Linked DNA regions of Homo sapiens: all the other regions are linked to region 1. Evidence: promoter capture Hi-C in human tissues and cell types (Jung and others, 2019). All regions are on one chromosome and are shown on one strand. The core of a region is centred on a gene start or on the middle of the fragment in contact, and the rest is flanking DNA. Distances in the headings are between cores, read along the strand shown. Region 1 holds the start of PRDX3 (peroxiredoxin 3). Region 2 overlaps GRK5 (G protein-coupled receptor kinase 5). Region 3 overlaps GRK5 (G protein-coupled receptor kinase 5). Region 4 overlaps GRK5 (G protein-coupled receptor kinase 5).

Region 1 (2,922 bases), core at 197-2,696:
TTTCCACATCTGGGGACTGGTACCCAGGGTGGCGCCTAGTGGTACCTGAGATGATTTTAGAAAATATACTGGGCTGGGTGTGGTGGCTCACGCCTGTAATCCCAGCACTTTGGGAGGCCAAGGTGGGAGGATCACCTGATGTCAGGAGTTCAAGACCAGCCTAGCCAATATGGTGAAACCCCATCTCTACTAAAAATACTAAAAAAATTAGCCGGGTTTAGTGGTGCACGCCTGTAATCCCAGCTACTCGAGAGGCTGAGCCAGAAGAATCGCTCGAACCAAGGAGGTAGAGGTTGCAGTGAGCCGAGATTGTGCCACTGCACTCTAGCCTGGACGACAGAGTGAGACTCTGTCTCAAAAAAGAAAAGGAAAAAAAAAAAAGAAAGCCAATTTAAAGAAAATAGTAAGTGATATTTGGTGATAAGAAGACTTGAGAAACGAAGTTGCTAATTGAATGACTAGTGATTGGAAAATACCAACTCAGACCGGGTGCAGTGGCTCATGCCTATCATCCCAGCACTTTGGGAGGCCGAGGTGGGCGGATCACTTGAGGTCAGGAGTTTGAGACCAGCCTGGCCAACATGGTGAAACCCCATCTCTACTTAAAATACAAAAACTTAACTGGGCATGGTGGCAGGCGGCTGTAATCCCAGCTGCTCAGGAATCCCAATTACTCATGAAGCTCAGGCAGGAGAATCGCTTGAACCCGGGAGGCAGAGGTTGCAGTGAGCCAAGATCATGCCACTGCACTCCAGCCTGGGCGACAGAGCAAGACCCAGTCTCAAAAAAAAAAAAAAAGAAAAGAAAAGAAAAGAGAAAAGAAAATACCAGCTCCAAGACTGCAATTTGTCACACTTACTGTAAGGCCACGGTGTGATTTTTATCTATGTTTGATGTGGTTGCTTCAAGTACTATGCTCACCACTGAACACTTGGCTTCATTAATAGACAAAAACCAAATTTTAAATTTGTCCCAGTTTTCCCAATTTTGGGAAGAGAGGCCAAATGTTAGACCACACACAATTCCAGCGGATTTCAGGCCAACAAAGCCTTGATGTGTCTAGCCCACTTAGCTTATTAACGGACTAAAACTGCATTTGTAATTAATTCCATTTCATACAGAAGCCGGAAGTCTCTACCTGAGGCTGAAATAAGAAAGGGATCCTGTCACAGAAATACTAGACACAGTAATCCACACAAGGTTAACAAAACAGTGGGAAATATGGAAACAAATACCTAATGCCCCGCCTGGATTCGTTCTTTTAAGGTTGGGGCGACAGTAGGAAAACCACGTGTCACTTGCCCAAGCATTCAGCCTTAAAGGGAATTTCTCCCTCAGGGTCTCCAGGAGGCGGGGAGGCGGTGGCTCCTCCGGCCCCGCCCCCCCACCAGCAGAGGGCCCGCTCACCACCCCGTAGGCCCCGCCCCTGCGTCTCTGCCCGCCCCGTGGCGCCCGAGTGCACTGAAGATGGCGGCTGCTGTAGGACGGTTGCTCCGAGCGTCGGTGAGTGGCTGTCGGCTGGGGACAGGCGTGGAGACACTGGTGGCTCCGGGAACGTGCTTCTCAGACAGGACCCCGCGCTTCTGGGCATGAGGGCCATTCGCCCTTCTTGGAGGGTTTCCGCGGGTAACGGACCCAGAGGCCTCCCTCCGGGAAGGTTCCATGCGCCTGCGCAGAACCGCCCTTCCCCACTCCATCCTCGCGGTCTCTTCCCCGAGTCCCTCCTCTTTCGGCGTCCCCGGTCCCCAGGCCCATCTCCACTTAAGGTCCTGGCCCTGATTCTGCCACCGACCCTGTGATCTTGGGCAAGCGCCTTCGCCTTTCTCAGACTGTGTACTTAAGATGGAAAGAATGATGCCTACATCAAGGCGTTGCTGTGAACAGCCCCTTAAATACTGGATAAAAACGCGCAAAGTGCTAAAAAACTCACAAAGGCTTTCCCTCCCAATCCCACTCCCGCGTGTTTCTGCTGCTGTTTCCTGCTTAACTGTGGGCAATGCGTCGTGCTCTTTTGGTACACGGCTTTCTCTGGTGGGGTTCAACACAGCCCCTTTCGTTCTCCTGAGTCATTTTGAACATTAAAGTTGAGCAAACCGGCAGAGTGCGGTGGCTCACGCCTGTAATCCTAGCACTTTGGGAGGCCGAGGCGGGCAGATCACTTGAGCCCAGGAGTTTGAGACCAGCCTGGACAATAATAGTGAGACCTTGTCTCTAAAAAAAAAAATAGCCGGGCATGGTGGTCAGTGCTCCTGGGGAGGCTAAGGTGGGAGGATCACTTGAGCCCAGGAGGTCGAGACTGCAGCGAGCCGAGATCGCGCCACTGCACTCTAGCCTGGGTAAAAGAGCGAGACTCTGTTTCAAAAAAAAAAAAAAAAAGTTGAGTAAACATGTCCCTTGAGCCTTTAACAGACTCCCAGAGGCTGAATTTGGCTCTTCTTGTTTACTTGTCGCTGGTGCTGGAGGGGCCTTGTTTTTCTAAGGAAAACCTTGAAATGGTAGAACATACTCAGCAGATAGTGCTGGGAAAAGCCTGCACAAGTCCCCTGGCTTCTGAACCCTGTGTTGCTTTAAGCGCATGGAGTTTCTGATTTTTTTTTTTTTTTTTTTTGAGACGGAGTTGTCGCCCAGGTTAGAGTGCAATGGCGCGATCTCGGCTCTGCAACCTCTGCCTCCCGGGTTCAAGCAATTCTCCTGCCTCAGCCTCCCAAGCAGCTGGAATTACAGGTGCCCGCCACCGCCGCCTGGCTAAGTTTTGTGTTTTTAGTAGAGATGGAGTTTCACCATCTTGGCCAGGCTGGTCTCGAACTCCTGACCTGGTGATCAACCCGTCTTGGCCTCCCAAAGTGCTGGGATTACAGGTGTGAGCAACCGCGCCCAGCCGGTCTTTGTGTTCTTATAGTTCCTCTCCACCTTCCAGTCTCC
Region 2 (2,922 bases), core at 113-2,612, 200 kb before region 1:
GGGTCAGTTTCAGGGGTGGTGGCCATGGAGAGCACACTAGAATATGGGAATGAGCAGACAATGCAGGCAGGGGGAGAAGCTGAGTCCAGGTGAAGAAGAGGGAAAAAGGTCAAAGCCAGAGAGAATGGGGCTTGAGGCTGGGAGGAGGGGCAAGGAGAAGCTACAGTGGGGAGGTGAAACCTCCAGGTGAGATGCCAGGAGGACCTGCAGGGTGTGCTGAAGTGTGGGAGAAGGTGAATTAGGACAAGAATTCTGGGCTAGGTCTGAGACCACCATAGGATGTCACTGAGTGGATCTTCAAGACTGTCCTAAAGAAAACAGACAGAAAGTGGTAGGTCACTCAGGGATGGGAGGTGAGGCGTGAAGGGGCGAGAACCAGCAAGTAGTGTTAAGTGAGTGGCCAGCAAGTGTATTAGGCCATTCTTGCATTGCTATAAATACCTGAGCCTGGTTAATTTATTAGAAAACACGTTTAATTGGCTCATGGTTCTACAGGCTGTACAGGAAGCATAGCACTGGCATCTGCTTCAGGGGAGGCCTCAGGAAGCTTACAATCGTGGTAGAAGGTGAAGCAGGAGCAGGCATGTCACATGGCCAGAGGAGAGTTGAAGGGGAGGTGCCACACTGCAACAACCAGATCTCACAAGAACTCACTATCACCAACAATGCCCTCATGACCCAAACACCTCCCACCAGGCTCCACCTCAACATTAGGGATTACATCTCAACATGAGACTTAGGCAGGGACAAATATCCAAACTGTACCAGCAAGTACACTTCCTTGGTAATGAATGTAACTGGCTGAAAATCCACATGCTAAGACACATGCACATACAATAAGCAACACACGTCTTGGGGGCCTGGGCACAGCCAACTCACTTCCAACTCTGCCCTTCCCAGGACAGGGCTCACACTTGCCAAGTTGTCAGCCAACAGAGGGTACGTCAACCAACAGAGGGCACAGCAAGCCAAGGGGCCCCTGTCCTCACCACCTTCACCTGGTGAGGTTTGGGTGCTTGGGAGAGACCTCGCTTGCCTCTTAGCCTATTCTCATTGTAAGCCACTAAAGATACCACACCCCAGGCCTGTTGCCAAGGACACCACAGTGGATGAGCACTGGGCAGGGGTCGGTCTCAGCTCTGCCATCAATTCTCTGTGTAACCTTGGACAAGTCACTTCCCCTTTCTTGGTCTCAGTTTCCTCATCCATAAAATAAGGGGGTTCGAATAATAACCTCTAAGCCCCTTCTCAACCTGCAAACCTTCTTGGCATGCCAGCTTCACAAATGCAGATGATTACAGGGACTTAGACCAGATTCCAAGATCAACCTTGGAGGTCAGTTTCAACCAGGATTCCAAAAACTGTTTCCATCCAACCTCAATAGGGATTCCTGATCTCGCATCTCACCCCCTGGTTCTAAGGCAAGGGTAGGCAAACTTTTCTGTAAAGGGCTAGTGGGAGATATTTACTACTAGCCATATGGTAGTAGTTTGAGGGCCATATGGTCTCTTTCACAACGATTCAGCTCGCTGTTGTAGTGAAAGCCTCCGCAGACTACGCAGGCACACTCGTATTATTGCACTTCACTTTATTGTCTTTTGCAGATATTGCATTTTTTATATGAATTGAAGGTTTGTGGCAACCCCGTGTCGAGCAAGTCTATCCGCACCATTTTCATTTCCCCAACAGCATGTGCGAACTTCCTGTCTGTGTCACATTTCAGTAACTCTCAAAATATTCCACCTGGGAGCCTACTGAAAATGCAGATTCTCATTCCCCCCACCCCACTTCAGACCTACTATATTAGTCTGTTCTCATGCTGCTAATAAAGACATACCTGACTGGGTAATTTATAAAGGAAAGAGGTTCACTTGACTCACAGTTCCACGTGACTGGGGAGGCCTCACAATCATGACAGAAGAGCAAGGGACGTCTTACATGGTGGCAGGCAAGACAGAGCGTTTGCAAGGGAACTCCCCTTTATAAAACCATTAGATCTTGTGAGACTTATTCACTATCATGAGAACAGCATGGGAAAGACCCATCCCCATGATTCAATTACCTCCCAACAGGTCCCTCCCACACATGTGGGAATTATGGGAGCTACAATTCAACATGAGATTTAGGTGGGGACATAGCCAAACCATATCACCTACTGACTGAATCAGAATTCCACTGGTAGGGCCCAGAAATCTGTGTTTTAACATACTCTCCAGTTTAAAGCAGTGCTTTTCCAGCTATCTATGGAAAAGAACCAGTTTTTTAAATTTCCAATCCATCACGGACTGATACTTTTGTAAATCTCCATTGTTCCCAACTTTCCACGTGAGTCTGACAACAGCCAACTGCTTTATCACCTGTTCCACAAGATGAGTCCACTGATCACACACCTGGATGCTACAGCCACAACGAATTGCTATGAGTGTTTCTAAGCATCTCTGTACTTATCACAGACCAGTAAAATCAGTCCACGAACCACACTTTGAACTGCTCTAGAAACACAAGGTCTTGTATTCCTTTCTTTGGAGAGTCATCCCTTCCCCTATAATAATTCTTTGGGTGAGGCCAACACCAAGCTCGGAGATGAGCACAGGGCCCAGGCCTTACCAATCTGAGTCTTTACTTGAACATTTTTTGGCACTCTAAGGAAAGTTACTTTTTCTTTATTTGAAGCCTTTAACTCTTAGGACCATGTAAGCCTGGAGTTGCTGGTGGCTATCTTGTGGCCATATAGAAAGAACCTGTCAGAGAATGAAATCAAAACTGTAGAAAGTAGAATAATAAATAGTGTCCTGATGATGTTTGAGACCTGGATCCAGCCATACCTGAAGCTATGAGATTTACCCCTGGACTTTTCAGTCACATAAACCAACAGACTTCCTCTAACCCTTAAGTTAGTTTGAGTTGGGTTTCAGTCCCTTG
Region 3 (2,922 bases), core at 131-2,630, 170 kb before region 1:
CCCAAAAAGTGAAAAGGGCATTTCATACCCACATGAACCCAAATCCCAGCAGAGAGGGCTTCTTCACATGAACAAGATTTGATCTCTGAACCAGTCCCCGGAACAACATTGGCAACCCAGAAGGCTCCACTGATTTTAAAGAACTCTCCAAACTTTTGATATTTCTGGCAACTGGCCAGCATACCCTCCTGAGATAAGAAGTGAAAAGCAAACCCAGGTCCTCAGGGGAGAGAGAGGGAGGACGGAGCCCGGGTGGCCCACAGTGCCCAGGTCCTACTCTTGCCCGTAAGCTGCACAGAACTTGGGCCTGGTCACCACCATACGGGGCTCTGCTGAGCTTAAATGACACCAATCCAGGATTCGGGTGGAAAGTGGGCTCTTGCTCTAATTGCACCAGAGGATGGCAGGTGGTGGAATGAGACTGGTTTGTACCAAGAGTGACTCTTGTCTTTTCAGAAGGGTTGATGAGATGGTGGGCAGGGGCTGCCTTGGGCAGGTGACATAATCGCTGCAACTTTCCCCTCCAATTAAACACCAAATAAATGTGTTGAAGAAACCAAAACAGACCCAGGAGCTTATTGGGGCCACTCCAGAGGCAAGTCTGGTTAGAGGAGGCTTTTTCTTACCCACTCAACTGCAGTCTCCTTTACAGCTTCAACGAGAAGCAGTTCGATCTGCTGTAAGCACCTTGAGGGCAGGATGTTTGTCCTCCATTCACATATGCTGAGCACACAGTGGGCAGCCTCCCTAATAACCAGGGCCAGCCAATGAGATGCAAGAATAACTTGTTAGCTTTCCCTTCCAGAAAAGCTCCTTCAAGGGGCTCACACATTGGGAGATATGTACTTTTACCCTTTCCCTCTTATCTTTTTCTACTTCTTTGGAACAAGAATATTGTGGCTGGAGCTCTATCTGCCATCTTGGATCATGAGACACCTAGTGGAATCGAGAGATAAAAGCAGCCTAGGACCCTGATGACACAGAAGAGCCAACGCATGGCCTAACTCAAGATTTTATTTATATGAGGAAAAAGTGTTTAAGTCACTATAATTCAAACCATCCAGCCAATAATTATGGGTATCTGACCCATGGGACATTCTACCTTACCACCCAAACTTCCCTTGCTAAAGCCTACCACTCAGTTGAGGCCACCTCCCCTAGGAAGCTTTCCTGGATTACACTCTGCAGAGGGAAGGATCACTTTTTAATTTGATCAATTGCCATATAGCATAGTGGCTAAGAGTTCAGGATCAGGAGTTGACAGACCTGGATCCAAATTCAAGTTCCCTCACTTACTAGTCATGTGACCTTGGATGAATCATTTCACTTCTTTGAACTTTATGAGCTTTTATCAGCTGTCAGTTGGGACTACCATCTGACACTACCATTATCCAGGGTTCCCAAGGACTGGATGAGAACAGAGGTAAAGCCCCTGGCAACCAATCAACACAAAATACACCTGAACTTATTTTTTCCAGATACCAGTCATTCATGAGCTGCTGTCATGGTTTTTACCTACCACCTATAATAGTGTCTTAGTCCATCCTCACTCTGCTTGATAAAGACATACCCGAGACTGGGTAATTTATAAGGAAAAAGAGGTTTAATGGACTCACAGTTCCACATGGCCAGGGAAGCCTCACAATCATGGCAGAAGAGGAAAGGCACATCTTACATGGCGGCCGGCAAGAGAGAATGAGAGCCAAGTGAAAGGGGTTTTCCCTTATAAAACCATCAGATCTGGTGAGGCTTATTCACTACCACAAGAACAGTAATGGAGAAACCACCCCCATGATTCAACTATCTCCCATCAGGTCCCTCCCACAACATGTGGGAATTATGGGAGCTACGATTCAAGACGAGACTTGGGTGGGGACACAGAGCCAAACCATATCAAAGAGTTACCACCATTACAGTATTTACTCAATATCTTTCTTTAACTTAGGTTGTAATTAACTGCCCCTCCTGTCTTTTTCCAACTTAGTCTTTCTAAGTAATAACATAGTGGAATTACTGTTGCAGTGGCTGGATTTTTTTAATGACATACATTAAAATAAATGCATAACACATTCCATCCACTTCCTAACATGATTCTGACATATTTAGGAACAAAATGCAGATGTCTCTTCCATTCCCTACTGACTAGGCTCCCTGAGGGTGGGGCCTGGGTTGCACTTATCTCTGTGATTAGCCCAGTATCTGCAACACAGACGGAGCCCATTGAATATCTGCCTAATGGGTGGGCAAACATTCTCCCACAGCCCCATCAGAGACCTGGACAGCAGGCCCAGCCAAATTCCATTCCAGCACATTCTGAGGGCTGTCCAAATTCTTCTGCTGTGCTGCGTGCATGTTCTATCAAACATTACACACTGGAAGTAGACTGTCAACAGAGGAGTCTGCAATTGTTTCCACAAACGTGTCCATGAAACTCAAACAGCTTTTGCTGTAATGGGATTTGATCCACTCCATGGCAGCCTGGCAAGATCTGAACTGACCAGTGAAACGTGGCAGGGACTTCACAAAAAAGGGGTTCTTCTCTGCGCTGGACAAATAAAACCTTCTGAAAGAGGGTTGCACCACTTCGACAGCTGAAAAGATTCTTGTGAAATGTTTCCATCGGGAAACGCAAAGCAAGAGGTGGTGACATTCTGAAAACACCAGATTCCAAATAAAATGTGAGCTGTGACAAAGATGCTGCAGGATCCAGCCTCGGTGTCAGAGACACTTTTGAGCAATGGAAAAGTTTTGATGGAAAATTGTGCACTTGGTCTGCTAAGAAGTAAGCAAGCAAAATGTTTCTTGGCAATACATTAAATGTTTTATTTGGCAAGTTCATGCCAACTCAGACTTGAAGGTAACTTACTTCTCCCACCACCTCTCCCTCCCATGGCTAAATGCCGCACTGAAAAAATAAGACAG
Region 4 (2,922 bases), core at 317-2,816, 150 kb before region 1:
CTTCTCTCCCGGCTTTCAAAATCTTATGTTTGTTTTATACATAATGTCCAGGGTTTTTGACTGTCCTTAGCGGGAAGGACAGGAAACACCGCATCTACTCCCTCTTGTCTGGAACCATAAATCCTATATTTCATATTTTCATCTTTTATATTTTTGAGAAACACATGAATAAAATATAGCAAAATGTTAAGATTTCTCTCATCTGGATGGCAGATACATGAATGCTCAGTATCTGGCTCTCAATGCTCTTCTTCTATTTATTAGAAACACTTCATAAGTTGAGTGGTCACTTACACCTCATTTATTCTTTCCTTCCCTCGTTCATCCAACTAACATCTATTGTGCCCCTCCTGTGAGGCAGGCACCAACTACGCAGTGGTGAATTTTAACAATCCAGTTCCTCCCCAAAGAGCCCTGAGGAAGGGTGCTCTGGCAGAAGAGGACAGGTGCTCTGAGAGACTCTGGTCTGGAGCTCATTTAAATTCAGGAGTCAAAAGAGGCTTCTCTGAGGAAGTGGCCTTCACATCTGGCTGTGCCCCATAGCACTCCTGGCATCACCACCTGCAGACAGTTTAGCCAGGGCCGGGAAGCACCGCCCTGCCAGGTGAGCGTGGCTGTGCGCAGGTGCCCGCTTCTCACATTGCTCCCCTTGGAGATGCTTTCCTCCTGTTGTAAGCTCTCACCTCCAACTCAACACCCCAGAAAGGTCTCTCCGAGCAGCCCTGTGGCCCTGTGGATGAGTGCAAGACGTTCCCTGGGGCCACAGTGAATGGGTTGTGAGGTAACATCCCTCTTTTGGGAGAAGCTGGGCTCAGCATCCAGGAATGGCTTTCTGGCAGCCAGCAGACCCAGGATGAAAATGACAGAGAAGGCTTGGCTCACCAGAAAGGGGGTACTTGCTGGGCACACATGGGTGAGTTGCAACCATGGCAACTAAGGTCTCCTCCCCAGTCCCACAACAGGCCCTATTCTCTCTGAGCCAAAATTAGCATGAAGAACAAAATGGTCCCCCATGAGGAAATGGCTAGTCACCAGAGGGGTTCTCCCTGGCTCCCCTCTCTGAAGGCCCCCTGCAAAGTCTCAGTGGTCAAATCCTCCCCAGTAAGCTACAGCCCCAGGAACACAGCCCCTCTTCTCTTCCACCCGACCTCGACTGCCTCCAGCAGAAAAGCTGATCATCAAGGGTGCACACGGCATCCACGGCACCGTGGTGTCTGTGGGAACTCCGGAAAGCACGCCAGTGTGCAGAGGGGCATGGGCCCCTGGTCTCCCGACGAGGGCACCAGCTAAGCCCTTTACACACATGGTCTCATCTCACCCACTCCACCACCCTATGACTGGGTTCACAGACAGTGTTACAGCTGGGGAAACAGGCTCAGCAGGATAAAGTAACTTGTCATGTGGCCAGCAGAGAGGGCAGGATCTGAACCCATGTCTGCCTGGACCCAGAGCCCCCAATCCCTCAGGCCAGCAGCATTCTCGGCCCGAGAACACCATGGGGATTCTGATGTGCCTGGGATTTTAGGGATGGAAGGTGGGTCTTAAGGACGTTTCCTGACCCTTCAGGATCCCACCTTGCTTCACCTGCTCATGTCTGCCGTCGTGGGGCGGGGCACAGATGGCCTCCTATCACCTATAAACATGGAGTGTGGACTGAGTGGCCCAGGGCCAGGACGGAGCAAGCCTGGGGGTGGCAGGTAAGTCCCCCCGGCCCTGGAAACTGGTGGGGACAGACCGTGAAGAGGCCATTTAGAAAAGCTGAATAAATGGCTACATGTGGCCTTGAATTCCAGGGCAGGCACGGGGCAGCTCACCCGAGGCCCTGGGCAGAAGTCCCCAGAAAAGCTGGGCCTATGGAGTTCTGGGCAGCACCACCCCGTGCCCAGCCTTCAGTGGACTTGAGTCTTCTTAAACGTGTTCAGCACGTCCATGACCTCTGACAATAATAAGCGGATGGGGAGCCCTCAGGCAGTGATGGGGAAGGACCCACCCCAGGGCACAGAGGGGAGAAGGGCCGGGACCCCAAACACTCTGGAGTGGGGCCTCACATCATGCCTGTCCCCTGGGCGCTCTCGCCCAGGCACCCAGGCCTCCTCACCACAGCCGTGTCCTGCGTGGGACCAGGCACAGACCCACTTGGTTGGCTGCTCTTGGAGGTGCCTGGTGTGTGTGTGCTGGATACAGGGGGCTAAGCTGTGCCACTGAGCCCAGTGGCTCCTCAGGAGCACTGACATCCCCAGCAAGTGGAAAGGGGAGCCCTACCTCCCCCACCTCACCCCACATCCCCCACCCCACCTGACTCTCAGCTCCCAAAGCCTGGGCTGCCCCCTGAGGGCAGGACCCACAGGCTCCAGGAAGAAAGGGGAGAAGTTATGAGCGGTGGCTCTGTGTTGGGCCTGGCCCACCTCCACCACCCTCCCATCAGCTGTGTGACTTTGGGCCGTTACAGAACCACTCTGTGCCTCAGTTTCCCCATCTGAAAGGTGAAGTGAAATATTAAATAATAGCACCTGCCTCAAAGGATAACTGGGAGGAGGTCACTCTGCCCGGCACATGCCATATATTCAATGAATACTGGTTGCCTGTTTATGTTGATTAGCAAAAAGGTCAGCCTGGAGCCCCTACCTGGAAGCACAATACTGTGTCCACTGATTGGCATTTGCCTCACTGCACAGACAGCTTGGCGGCTCACCCATTTGCCTTAATGCACAAACGGCTTGGCGGATCACCTGCTACTCACTCCCCGCACAGCCCCCAGGCAGGACAGCTTACCTATGGTCCTTCGGAGGTCTTCACACTGGCTAATGTGAGGGAACTTCAGGATTTCTTTCCACTTCTTGCTTTTCCCTTTGCGCTTTCCTCCGCCCCCTGCAGAGATGGGGAAAAAGATGCCTGGCTGAGGCTCCAGAGCCTGCGGCGTCC

Evidence for each region. Contacts are between HindIII fragments. The study calls those that stand out against the background at their distance.
Region 2: a contact is called between a fragment that was not itself captured here and the fragment with the promoter of PRDX3 in region 1, in 2 of the 25 tissues and cell types used here (spleen and thymus).
Region 3: a contact is called between a fragment that was not itself captured here and the fragment with the promoter of PRDX3 in region 1, in 1 of the 25 tissues and cell types used here (mesendoderm cells).
Region 4: a contact is called between a fragment that was not itself captured here and the fragment with the promoter of PRDX3 in region 1, in 3 of the 25 tissues and cell types used here (dorsolateral prefrontal cortex, liver and spleen).

What each region holds. Positions count from the first base shown.
Region 1 is chr10:119,177,336-119,180,257 of GRCh38, reverse strand. PRDX3 (peroxiredoxin 3) reads left to right here and starts at 1,446. Exons shown (of 7, transcript NM_006793.5): 1 at 1,446-1,503. The coding sequence starts at 1,468. RefSeq lists a silencer at 1,304-1,413 and enhancers at 1,444-1,923, 1,923-2,567. The HindIII fragment of the contact is 15,713 bases long and covers 1-2,922 here.
Region 2 is chr10:119,372,519-119,375,440 of GRCh38, reverse strand. All of the region lies in intron 2 of GRK5 (G protein-coupled receptor kinase 5), which reads right to left. Among named protein-coding and RNA genes, the nearest start is that of MIR4681, 4.0 kb to the left of the region's middle. The HindIII fragment of the contact is 8,040 bases long and covers 1-2,922 here.
Region 3 is chr10:119,350,258-119,353,179 of GRCh38, reverse strand. The region is part of intron 2 of GRK5 (G protein-coupled receptor kinase 5); the gene reads right to left. Among named protein-coding and RNA genes, the nearest start is that of GRK5-AS1, 12 kb to the right of the region's middle. The HindIII fragment of the contact is 5,641 bases long and covers 1-2,922 here.
Region 4 is chr10:119,326,462-119,329,383 of GRCh38, reverse strand. GRK5 (G protein-coupled receptor kinase 5) reads right to left here. Exons shown (of 16, transcript NM_005308.3): 2 at 2,773-2,868. Among named protein-coding and RNA genes, the nearest start is that of GRK5-AS1, 11 kb to the left of the region's middle. The HindIII fragment of the contact is 5,135 bases long and covers 1-2,922 here.